Linked DNA regions of Homo sapiens: all the other regions are linked to region 3. The links are contacts of gene promoters, found by promoter capture Hi-C in blood cells and fetal thymus (Javierre and others, 2016). All regions are on one chromosome and are shown on one strand. Each heading gives the region's core, a stretch centred on a gene start or on the middle of the fragment in contact. The rest is flanking DNA. Distances are from core to core; before and after follow the strand shown. Region 1 has its middle 3.0 kb from the start of PTTG1IP. Region 2 overlaps UBE2G2 (ubiquitin conjugating enzyme E2 G2). Region 3 holds the start of TSPEAR-AS1 (TSPEAR antisense RNA 1).

The links. Contacts are between HindIII fragments. The CHiCAGO score rates a contact against its expected background, and 5 or more counts as called.
Region 1: a fragment that was not itself captured here is called in contact with the fragment with the promoter of TSPEAR-AS1 in region 3 in 1 of 17 cell types (naive CD4 T cells); the score reaches 5.4 in naive CD4 T cells.
Region 2: a contact is called between a fragment that was not itself captured here and the fragment with the promoter of TSPEAR-AS1 in region 3, in 5 of 17 cell types (total CD8 T cells, naive CD8 T cells, naive CD4 T cells and 2 more). The highest score is 11.2, in total CD8 T cells.

The regions. Positions count from the first base shown.
Region 1 is chr21:44,874,899-44,878,500 of GRCh38, reverse strand. No RefSeq gene overlaps it. Among named protein-coding and RNA genes, the nearest start is that of PTTG1IP, 3.0 kb to the right of the region's middle. The HindIII fragment of the contact is 1,020 bases long and covers 1,006-2,025 here.
Region 2 is chr21:44,775,888-44,779,472 of GRCh38, reverse strand. UBE2G2 (ubiquitin conjugating enzyme E2 G2) reads left to right here. Exons shown (of 6, transcript NM_003343.6): 4 at 2,056-2,174. Among named protein-coding and RNA genes, the nearest start is that of UBE2G2, 24 kb to the left of the region's middle. The HindIII fragment of the contact is 8,154 bases long and covers 1-3,585 here.
Region 3 is chr21:44,503,996-44,507,846 of GRCh38, reverse strand. TSPEAR-AS1 (TSPEAR antisense RNA 1) reads right to left here and starts at 1,803. Exons shown (of 7, transcript NR_103707.1): 1 at 1,519-1,803; 2 at 748-1,200. It overlaps TSPEAR (thrombospondin type laminin G domain and EAR repeats), which reads left to right. Exons shown (of 12, transcript NM_144991.3): 11 at 2,966-3,067. The HindIII fragment of the contact is 6,455 bases long and covers 1-3,851 here.

The DNA of each region.
Region 1 (3,602 bases), core at 266-2,765, 370 kb before region 3:
CATAAGTGTTAAAAATAATAGTTTCTTTTAAAAACTAACTTCCTTCAAGCCTCCTGGCTTCGTGCTAATAACTGCTCGTTAAGCTCTAGCCTGTGTAGCTGTTACACTTGCTCACGGGCACGTAGTACATTCTATGTCCTTGAACCTTAACCAGGATATTTGTGCTGGACCTGCCCACAGGCACATTCCAGCTCGCAGCCTATGCCCCTTCCCTATTTGGTATTAAGCAACTTCCTCTTTTCCTTTGTCTTTCCATTACTTTTACCTATTTAGAAAAGTTTTAAACTGTTAGCCAATCGGGTTTTAGTTTAGATTGTGAGGTCTGGCTCCAGCCAATGGAGACAGGACACAGTAGCAGGGCCAAACAGCGGCAGGGATGAAAATGGCTTCCCTCCTTTGTTCAGGTGTGCTCTCGCCATTGTTCCATCTGTGATGAGCACCCCTTCTGCAGAAAGTAAAAATGGCCTTGCTGAGAGAATTAAATTTATGTTCGAGTGCTGTGTCTTTGCAGCACTTGGGAACAAGCATTCTGTTTCTAAATAACAATTTTTACATATAACAGTGTTTTAGGAACCCCTAAAGCATCTCCACCACTTTCATGTATTATACAAATAATAGAATGGAAGGTTATAATTTGTATGCCCCAAAGGCGGAGCATTAGCAAGGTCACGTTTGATCATTTCAAATGTTGGTGTATTTTCTTCTGACCACTCTAAAGTCCTGGCATGTCCTGTTTTTAGAGAGCGTATAAGGACTGAGCTTTAAAGAAAAGTTTGGGATCCAATTTCTATAATATCCTGCCAGTCCTCCACATCCTTTTGTTTCTTGGTTGTTGGTGGTGGAAAGCTAAAATTCCTTTCAGTCTATCTAGATTAGTAGAAAGTCTTTCTTTAGATATTAAGTGGCCCAAGTACTTTGTTTTTTATAAAATTGAGGTTTTTCTTTAGGAATTTTATGTCCCTTTAGGGCTGTTGTAATGAATGTATCCCATCTTCTATAAAAGCTTTGCTTATCTTCTGAGCAAAGGAGTAAACTGCCCATGTATTGTAATAAAAAATTTTTTTTAAGAACAAGTCAAAAGACTGGGCCCAGTGCCTCGCGCCTGTAATTCCAACACTCTGGGAGGTTGCAGTGGGCGGATCACCTGGGGTTCAGAGTTTGAGACCAGCCTGACCAACATGGAGAAACTCCATCTCTACTAAAAATACGAAATTAGCCAGGCATGGTGGCGCATGCCTGTAATCTCAGCTACTCGGGAGACTGAGGTGGGAGAATTGCTTGAACCCGGGAGGCAGAGGTTGCAGTGAGCCGAGGTAGCGCCATTGCACTCCAGCCTGGACAACAAGAGCGAAACTCCGTCAAAAAAAAAAAAAAAAGAACAAGTCAGTATGTAAGACAACTGTCTTTGCATCAGTTGGACTCTCAGTGTAGCCCTGAGCATGGCTGTCTGTGTGTATTGTCTGCCTTCCCAAGTAAAGGTAAAGAGAAATCAACACTTTCACACACAGAACTACTGAAGGATGTGCTAATAAGTCCACTACACTAAAGGACTTTGATCGGGGTAGCCAAGAGGATTCTTCCAGTATCAGTGGAAGACTCTGACCATATTTGATCAAGTACTGCCTTTAGTAGGTTTTGTAATTCTTCATTATTCAATAATTCAGTGTCTTCTAGGGCAATTAGGGATCGCAATTGGGTTAGATTTTGAAACTTTTTTTATGTCTAGTAACTCAGCTTTCTCATCTAATTCTAAATACGTCTTCCCCCTTTGGGAGAAAGAAACGTGGATATTGTAATTCTAAGAAGTCTCCTTTTATAAGATGGCTGGCAGCTGATAGAACCAGAAGGAAAATGTGAGTCCCTTGTAAAGGACCTAGTTGAAAAGCTATAGGCTGAGATTTACGTGCCGTTACAGGCGTATTAGTGACACCTACCCTTTGAACTTTTTTTTGACTCCAAGGAATGGAACCTTGTAACAAGATGGGATTTATTACAGAAAACACGGCTGCTCTATCAGCAAAAGCTTATGTCAGCAATGGGAACTCGTGTTAACTATTTTAAATAATTTTTATGGCCAGGCGTGGTGGCTCACGCCTGTAATCCCAGCACTTTGGGAGGCTGAGGCAGGTGGATCACAAGGTCAGGAGTTCAAGACCAACCTGGCCAATATGGTGAAACCCCATTTCTACTAAAAATACAAAAATTAGCCGGGCGTGGTGGTGCGTGCCTGTGGTCTCAGCTGCTCGGGAGGCTGAGGCAGAGGAGTCGCTTGAACCTGGGAGGCGGAGGTTGCAGTGAGCCAAGATTGAGCCATTGCACTCCAGCCTGCGCAACAGAGCGAGACTCCGTCTCAAAAAAAAAAAAATTATTTTTCCCAAAGTAGAGGCAGGGTCACACACTCGGGTATTTAAATTCTCTGGGAAAACCAGTGGGGTCCTGGTGAGCATCAGGAAATTCCTTGATTATACTTTTAAGTTCTACCTTTGACCATAACTCATGAACTAGGGCACATAGTTGTCCCCTATGAGAGACACTGGCTGTTTGAGCAATGGCCCCAAAACAGGAGGAGGAGGAGGAAGAAAGGTGGGTCTGGGCGAGGTAATTCAGACAACAAAGGATAAAGAGAAGGAGCTGAGGGAGGAGGGGGAGAAATTTCAGTAGTCTTTTTTAAATTCAGAAATTATTTTAGATAATTTTTGTTTTTCTCTCATAAATACCTTTATTAGAACTTCTTTTGGATGCTTCCAACTACCATAAAAAATAACTCTCCCAAAGATTCCGTTTTATCCTAGAGCCAGCGTTTTCCAATTGAGCAAACAAGTAAATTACCTTGGTGTTCCAATGGTACCCGGCTTTGGTCACTGAAATGTTTTTTCTCAAGTTACGTGAGACCATTTTTCTAAATATAACGAGAGGTGGCACCATAAGCACTGCACAGGAAACCAGCTGGAGTTTCCAAAGATGGGTCCTCCCTGAAGGAGAAAGACTTGTTTTGGATGGACGATTGCCTATGAGTTCTCTTAAGTGACAAAAGACTGTAAGGGAAAATCTGGTTACTCAAGAAGAAAGTTTAGACATGTCAAATTGAACTCAGCTCCAGAGCCTGGCCAGTTTTAAGGATTACAAATTTTGCTTAAGCCACGATTCGCTGCTTCTTTTCAAAGAGAAACTGCTTTCCCCTTCTCCAAATCTGAAGGACAAAAAAGGTTGCAAACTTTAGCAAGACGAACAAAACCTTAACCTCGAAGGATAGTGTTAACCACACACCTGCAAACAGCTGACTCTTTGGAGAAATAACAAACGAAACTCTTGCCTTAAAACCAAGCCTCAACTCCAGCCCTATCAGGTGTGGACCTGGGTAGGCGGAACAGAGTCTGAACCTCAGCCCTGGGAGGCTGCCAGAGACCCCGGCCAGGTTCCCAGGCGGTCCGGTGAACCAAGGCCGCTCCGCGGGTGCCAGCGCTCCGAGTGCCAGAGAAGTGGCTCGGATCACAAGAGGCTGGCTTCGGAGCCATCTGCAGGCGCCCAAATCCCAACCTAAAATCACCACAGGGTCAGAATCTAATGTAAGGGGGGGTTATTCAAAGGCAGTTGGAGGCTGG
Region 2 (3,585 bases), core at 909-3,408, 270 kb before region 3:
TTGTACCAGTAGCAAGAGCTCATGCTCGTGCCTCCCTCGGTGGCGTTCCCTGTGCTGGTCATGCTGAGGCTCTGGGGACTGTCACACAGTACCCCCCCCCCACCCCAGCTCCCCAAAACAAAGTGGCCATATTCGCTATCTTCTTCTGAAAAGGTAGCAAAGACAGTTTTCAGAATCAAAATTTGTCTTTTAGATTGAAAAATCTTGTCTCCATGAAGCAATCACTGCTTTGTTCTCTTCTGACTGTTGCCCGCAGATCAGCCCTGCTAGGGCCATGAGCCGTGCTGGCATCTGCTGTTGCTGCCGACAGCCCTGAGTGCCGCCTCCAGGTGAAAGCTAAAGCTCTTCGTTCAGTTTCTTTTTGATTTTTGTCTTTTTCCTTTAATTATAGAGATAAATATTTCCAAGTCTGTTGTTATTAATTTCACTGAACCAAGATAATTTTAAGATTTTTAAAACAAATTTTTACTTTTAAGAAATCTATTTTTTAACTGAAGATTTAAAACGTATATTTTTTTAAATTATTTTTTTCCTGTGCCATATCCTGGATTCTTTCTGAAGGCAGTAGGTCTGGTGTGGACTGTCCTCTGCTCATCCAGGCCTCGGCCCCTGCACGACTGTTCTTTCTGCCTTAGCCTTTGTTGTTAGAGGAGCAGAGCTGTTTAGGAAGGGACTTGTTCTTTCAGTTCGTAGACGGAGAACGGGTTTACTGACCTATTTATTGATCTGATGAGTCACACCCAGTGCAACTTCCACTGTTTCGTTGTCTGCCGCTGTCATTCAGCAGTCCTGCTTCCTTATCAAAGAAAGATGGTGCAAGATCTTTTAGAACTCCTCCAATGTGTGTTTTATTAATGTGATTTGTAGGAGAAGAGGAGTTCGTCCCTGGTGTGAAGGTACAGGCATAGTGGCTGACACTCTTCCTCTCCTGTGGCCATCATGCCTTGAACTGTTGGTCAAGATAGTGTTAATTTATACTTGTTGGGTTTTAAACCTTAAGCAGGATTTCTGAAATGGTTTCATCTATTTCTTCCATTTACACGTGAGGAAAGTATAGGTCCAGGGAGACTCAGTGCCTGTGTCTGTGCCCATGACGGGGAGTTGCTCCAATGTTGCATCAGTGGGATGAGGCACAGCACATGGGCCTGCAGGTGCAGCCTGGAGTGGTGGTGCCTGTGTGCCTAGCCTTTCACCGAGCATGCAGCAGTGATCACATGTGCTCTTCATCTGCTTCTTGAAGGTTGCAAAGATGCCTTCTTGGGCACGTTTAAAAATTAAAAATCACCTTTGAAATACAACTCTTAGCCCCACATCTGTTGAAATACAATGTAATCTTGCTATACCCTGTGCCGTAATTCATACCCTTATCCTAAAATGTGATTGTACCACATCTGCAGAAAAAACTCCCAGATCTTAGAGCATTGACATTAGTTCTTTTCTCTGATCTCCTTCTTATCAAGAGGTTCTGCTGCTTGACTCTTAACCTTCATAAATGTGAAAACTGCCTGGAATTCAGTCTTTGTACTTGTACCTAAGATTTAGACCAGATTGAAACTGGAGAATGGGACATTGCTTTCCACTGAAAAGAAAGTACCAATTCATTGTTACTTAGATAATCTTTTTGTGTGCATTTTTATTATTTATTTTTATTTTTGTTTATTTTTTGAGACGGAGTCACGCTCTGTCGCCCAGGCTTGAGTGCGGTGGCGAGATCTTGGCTCACTGCAACCTCCACCTCCCAGGCTCAGACGATTCTCCTGCCTCAGCCTCCCAAGTAGCTGGGATTACAGTCATGCGCCACCACACCCAGCCAATTTTTGTATTTTTAGTAGAGACAGGGTTTCACCATGTTGCCCAGGCTGGTCTTGAACTCCTGACCTCAGATGATCTGCCTGTCTCGGCCTTCCAAAGTGCTGGGATTACAGGCGTGAGCCACCGCACCCGGCCTCACGTGCATTTTTAAAGTGGTAAAAATGTTCTTAACCCATTTGTCAATTGTGGTCGACGTTGAAAAATGTACTTTGAAGTTCAGTCTACGTATTTTATATCTTCTAGGGGCCCAGAAGACACCTGCTTTGAGTTTGGTGTTTTTCCTGCCATCCTGAGTTTCCCACTTGATTACCCGTTAAGTCCCCCAAAGATGAGATTTACCTGTGAGATGTTTCATCCCAACAGTAAGTGCTTTTGGAAGTAGTTTTTGTGGTACCAGGATAGGTACGGAGATAATATTATCAGCCACCTGAAATGTGGTATATTCTATATGTCTATGATGTAGATCTTTAGAAAACACTTCTTATGTTTTGAAATTCAGCCAAGTAAGCATGGTGGTATTAAGCACATGATTTCAATTTTGAAGGTCAGTTTAATATAGATAAAAGACAACAGGCACCTAAAACCGGATGCCATTTGACCCAGCCACCCTACTTCACTGGGGAGGAAGTTTTACACATGGGTGTGTGCTCAGAAGGGGTTATGCTAATCTTTGTCATAGTGTTATTTGTAATGGTGAAAATTTTGACTTAACCTGGGTTTTTAACACAAGAATAAATTAAGTTATATATTGTATTAGTCTGTTGTCACGCTGCTAATAAAGACATATTCAAGTCTGGGTAATTTATAAAGGAAAGAGATTTAATGGACTCACAGTTCCACATGGCTGGGGAGACCTCACAATCATGGCAGAAGGCAAAGGAGAAGCAAAGGCACATCTTAGTGGCGGCAGGCAAGAGAGTGTGTGCAGGGGAACTGCCCTTTACGGAACCATCAGATCTCGTGAGACTTGTACACTATCACGAGAACAGCACGGGAAAGATGTGCCTCCATGATTCAGTACTTCCCACTGGGTCCCTCCCATGACATGTGGGAATTATGGGAGCTACAATTCAAGATGAGATTTGGGTGGGGACACACCCAAACTATATCATATATGTTAGAATGTGATGTAGATTTTTTAAATGATCTAAAAGAAGAATCAATGATACAAAGTAGTATTTGTGTTATATTGACTGGGAAAAGCAGTAGCACTGTTATAATTTCCTCTTGAAAAAGAAATTCACATGTAAATGTATATATAACTGGAAAAGTAAGCACAAAAATGTTAAAAGTGATTCTTTTTTCAGATTGAAATTTTTTTTCCTTTTTGTAAATCTTTTTTTGCCCTAAAATTAATATATATTAATTTTAAAAGGAGGAAAAAAATAAGGTCATTTAAGTGAATTGTACTGTAGCTTATTTGAAAATGTGTCCAGTAGTAGGAATTGGAATTTCTGAACAGCTGTAGTTTTTATTTTTTCCTTTTACATTCTTCCTTTTACATCTTTGCCATAGGGGTTTTCAGGACTACCCCCCCACCCCCGGCCACTTCACTGGTGGAAATGCCGTCTGCCAATAGACTTGCTGTCCTAACCCTCGTTTAGGACTTCTCATTTACTGCAGATATTGGTACACATAGGTAGTGGGCGGCTGCCTGAGAGAGACCATTTGGTACTTCTTTTCTTATCTCAAAGCTGCTTCAGTCTTGTGTGCACAGGGGATGCTCAGAAGCGTGCCTTCTTTCAGGGAGACTGGCCATGCGCCTGAGTTAGA
Region 3 (3,851 bases), core at 554-3,053:
AGGCACGGGGCGGCGGTGGCAGTTGTGTGTCCCCAGCACGAATCCACGCCATCCAATGTCAACGCCGAGAACAAAACAAACATTAGGCTTTTTAGAACAACATTTAGAATAAGACAAGTTGGAGAATGAATTGTGATTAAAAATTAGTCATGGACATGATGCCCAGTCTAGAAACAGATGAGGCAGACGCCTCGGGATTTGAAAGCTGCGGGAACTGACAGAACACAGCTACACACTCGCGACTTATGGCCCTGTCACCACTGGACAGTGGTATGGACAGTTTATGAACTAAATTATGAAACACAGAAAGTACTTACCAATTAATTAAGGTAATGTTTAATAATTACCATCAAAACAGCACACACAAGTCAAACTCCTAGCCCTTCTACCCAGCATGGGGAATTCCCTACACTTCCCGGAGACGTGATGTGGCCTCACCAAGTCCAAAACCCTATTCAAGGGCGCTGAGGGGTTTTGTGGCTTCTGTGTGTAACCTTGGCTCTGACTGCCTTCAAATGGTCGCTTGTGTTTGCTTTTTAGATTCAGTAGTTCTATTAAATCCACAGATATGTGCAGCCATGGCTGCAGACAACTCTGGAACATTCTCATCCCCTCACAAGGAGCCCCCCACACCCTTTTCCAGCCCCTCCCTCCCAACTGGGCACCCCCGGGCCCACTTCCTGTCTCTGTGATTTCCCGTTCTGGACACTGCACAGAAATGGACTCGTAGAGCCGTGGCCTCTGTACCTGGCTTTTTCTCGCAGCACCGTGTCCTCCGGGTTGGTGGTGTGGCCGCGCGGCTCAGAGCATCCCCCTTCTCATGGCTGAGTCACACTTCATCCGTCCATTTGTCCGATGATGGGCATTTGCCAGAGGGCGTGATTCTGAAGAATAACATCTGTCCTACAGCGAGTGTGACCCAGGGCTGCTTTGGAGGCAGAATCGGGCACTAGATGCCTTATTTTGTGGTGAAACCGAAGCCGGCTTCTGATGTGAGCCTCGGTGCAGCCGGACAGGATCTTCCACCACTGGTACATCCGACGTGGCCGCTTGTCTTCCTCGGGTCTGGGTTTCAGAGCTCAGATCCGACTGAGGAGTAACCCCGCGGATTCACACTGACCCGGGGCCCGCGGCCGTGCCTCCAGACCAGAGCATGTGATCACAGGCGTCCTCGTCCTCCTCCCAGCGAGCTGGCACGGGCTGCATGGGAACCAAATCATAACCCACCATTAATGGAGGTGGCTCCAGATGTCACCCTGACTGACCGAAGGAGTGAGGAGCCCAAGGCCCCATGGGCTCTGCCCGCCCTGCCTGTCACTGGACACCTCTGTGATCCCTCCCTCTCCCAAGGCCCTGTCTGAGCCCCTGCTGCAGGCCGGCCCCACAACTGCCTGCAGGGAAGCACCGGGATGAGGCCCCTCTGCTGCCTGAACTGGCCACAGCCCTGAGGCTGCTGAATACAGAGGCACCCGCCTGGCCTGCATGTCAGCAGGACGCCTGCGTGTGCATGGCTTCGACCTCCATTTCCTCATCTTGAGATGTGGGGCTGACGCTGACAGCTCGGCAGGTGGGCTCCTGGGGAGGAAAGGATCCAGGGGAGCCGCTCCTCAGACCCCTCAAACCGAGCCATCCCCAAGCACAGATGCATCCTTGGTAAATTCAGGTGAGACTCCTAAGACAGGACACAGCAAATTTGTTTGCAACAAGAAACAGCTTCTGCTTCTAGGAGAACATCTGTGAACGAGCAGGTCCTGCAGGTCCTGTAGGCACCTCCTGGAGTGACCTCACGGCCGCTGACCTCACAGCTGAAGACACAATGCTGAGAGAAGAAACCAGGCACAGAGGCCACAGCACTGTGACGCCATTTCTGCACAGTGTCCAGAGCGGGAAACCAAGCTCCTGCCTCCAGCAGGCACCAGCAGCCTGAGACTTTTTCTCTGATTGTTTCAACCTCTTAAAAGTGGACTTTTGTACCCCGGTGTTCATAGCAGCAGCATTCACAGTAGCCACATGGAGGAAATTCCCCAAGTGTCTGTCAGCGGATGGACAAACACAACGTGTCCATTCACACAGCGGAGCGTTACTCGGCCTTAGAAAGGAAGGCGATTCTGACACACAGTGCGACACGGATGAACCTTGAGTCACTGGAGTCTCAGCTAAGGCAGACACAAAGGACAAATACCGTGCGATTCCATTCATATGAGGTCCCTAGAGTGGTCAAATTCATAGAGACAGAAAGTGGCGTGGTGGGTGCCGGGGCTGGGGGGGGGGGGGGGGGGAGGGGGGAGGGGGTGATGTTTACTGGGTGCAGAGCTTCGGTTTTGCAGGATGAAGGCGTTCTGGAGGTGGATGGTGGGGGCGGCCACACAGCAGTATGAATGTGCTTAATGCCCCTGATCTGTGCACCTAAAGATGGTTGAGGTGGGAAATGTTATGTTATATGTATTTTACCATAATTTAAAATTTGAGGCCAGGCATGGTGGCTCATGCCTGTAATCCCAGCACTTTGGGAGGCTGAGGTGGGCAGATCACTTGAGGTCAGGAGTTCAAGACCAGCCTGGACAACATGGTGAAACCCTGTCTGTACTACAAATACAAAAATTAGCCGGGCGTGGTGCCGCACACTTGTAATCCCAGCTACTCGGGAGGCTGAGGCAGGAGAATCGCTTGAATCCGAGAGGCAGAGGTTGCCGTGAGCCGAGATCTCGCCACTGCACTCCAGCCTGGGTGACAGAATGAGACTCCATCTCAAAAATAAAATAAAATAAAATTTGAAATTTTTTTTAAGCAAACAACTAATTTACATTTTCCTGGAATAGACCAACACATATGTGACTGTGAGAAAATCACTCCCCACTTTGGCCCCGGCTCCTCCTCTATAAATTTTGGAGGTAGCTTCTGGCCAATCCCCCAGTTCCCTGGCGATGTCTGTTGTGTCCTAATATCCACCCACTTGTTCCTGCAGTGCTCTGGACTGGGAGTTTTTCTCGGTGGGAGAAGATTATTTCCTGGTGGTGGCCAACTCCTTCGATGGGCGTACCTTCTCGGTGAACAGTATTATTTACAGGTAATGAGCTGCCGAGGCCGGCCTCCTCCCAGAGCCTTGCTTCCCCACTGTGGGCTCACCGAGGCCGGCCTCCTCCAAGAGACTTGCTTCCCCACTGTGGGCTCACCGAGGCCGGCCTCCTCCAAGAGACTTGCTTCCCCACTGTGGGCTCACCGAGGCCGGCCTCCTCCAAGAGACTTGCTTCCCCACTGTGGGCTCACCGAGGCCGGCCTCCTCCAAGAGACTTGCTTCCCCACTGTGGGCTCACCGAGGCCGGCCTCCTCCCAGAGCCTTGCTTCCCCACTGTGGGCTCACCGAGGCCGGCCTCCTCCAAGAGCCTTGCTTCCCCACTGTGGGCTCACTGAGGCCAGCTTCCTCCCAGAGCCTTGCTTCCCCCGAGGGCTCACCGAGGCCAGCTTCCTCCAAGAGACTTGCTTCCCCCGAGGGCTCACCGAGGCCAGCTTCCTCCCAGTGCCTTGCTTCCCCCTAAGGGCTCACCGAGGCCGGCTTCCTCCCAGAGCCCTGCTTCCCCCTGAGGGCTCACCGAGGCCAGCTACCCCCCGAGGGCTCACCGAGGCCGGCTTCCTCCCAGAGTCTTGCTTCCCCACTGTGGGCTCACCAAGGCCGGCCTCCTCCAAGAGACTTGCTTCCCCACTGTGGGCTCACTGAGGCCGGCTTCCTCCCAGAGCCTTGCTTCCCCACTGTGGGCTCACCAAGGCCAGCTTCCCCCCAAGGGCTCACCGAGGCCAACTTCCTCCCAGAGCCTTGCTTCCTGCTGAGGGCTCACCGAGGCCGGCTTCCTCCC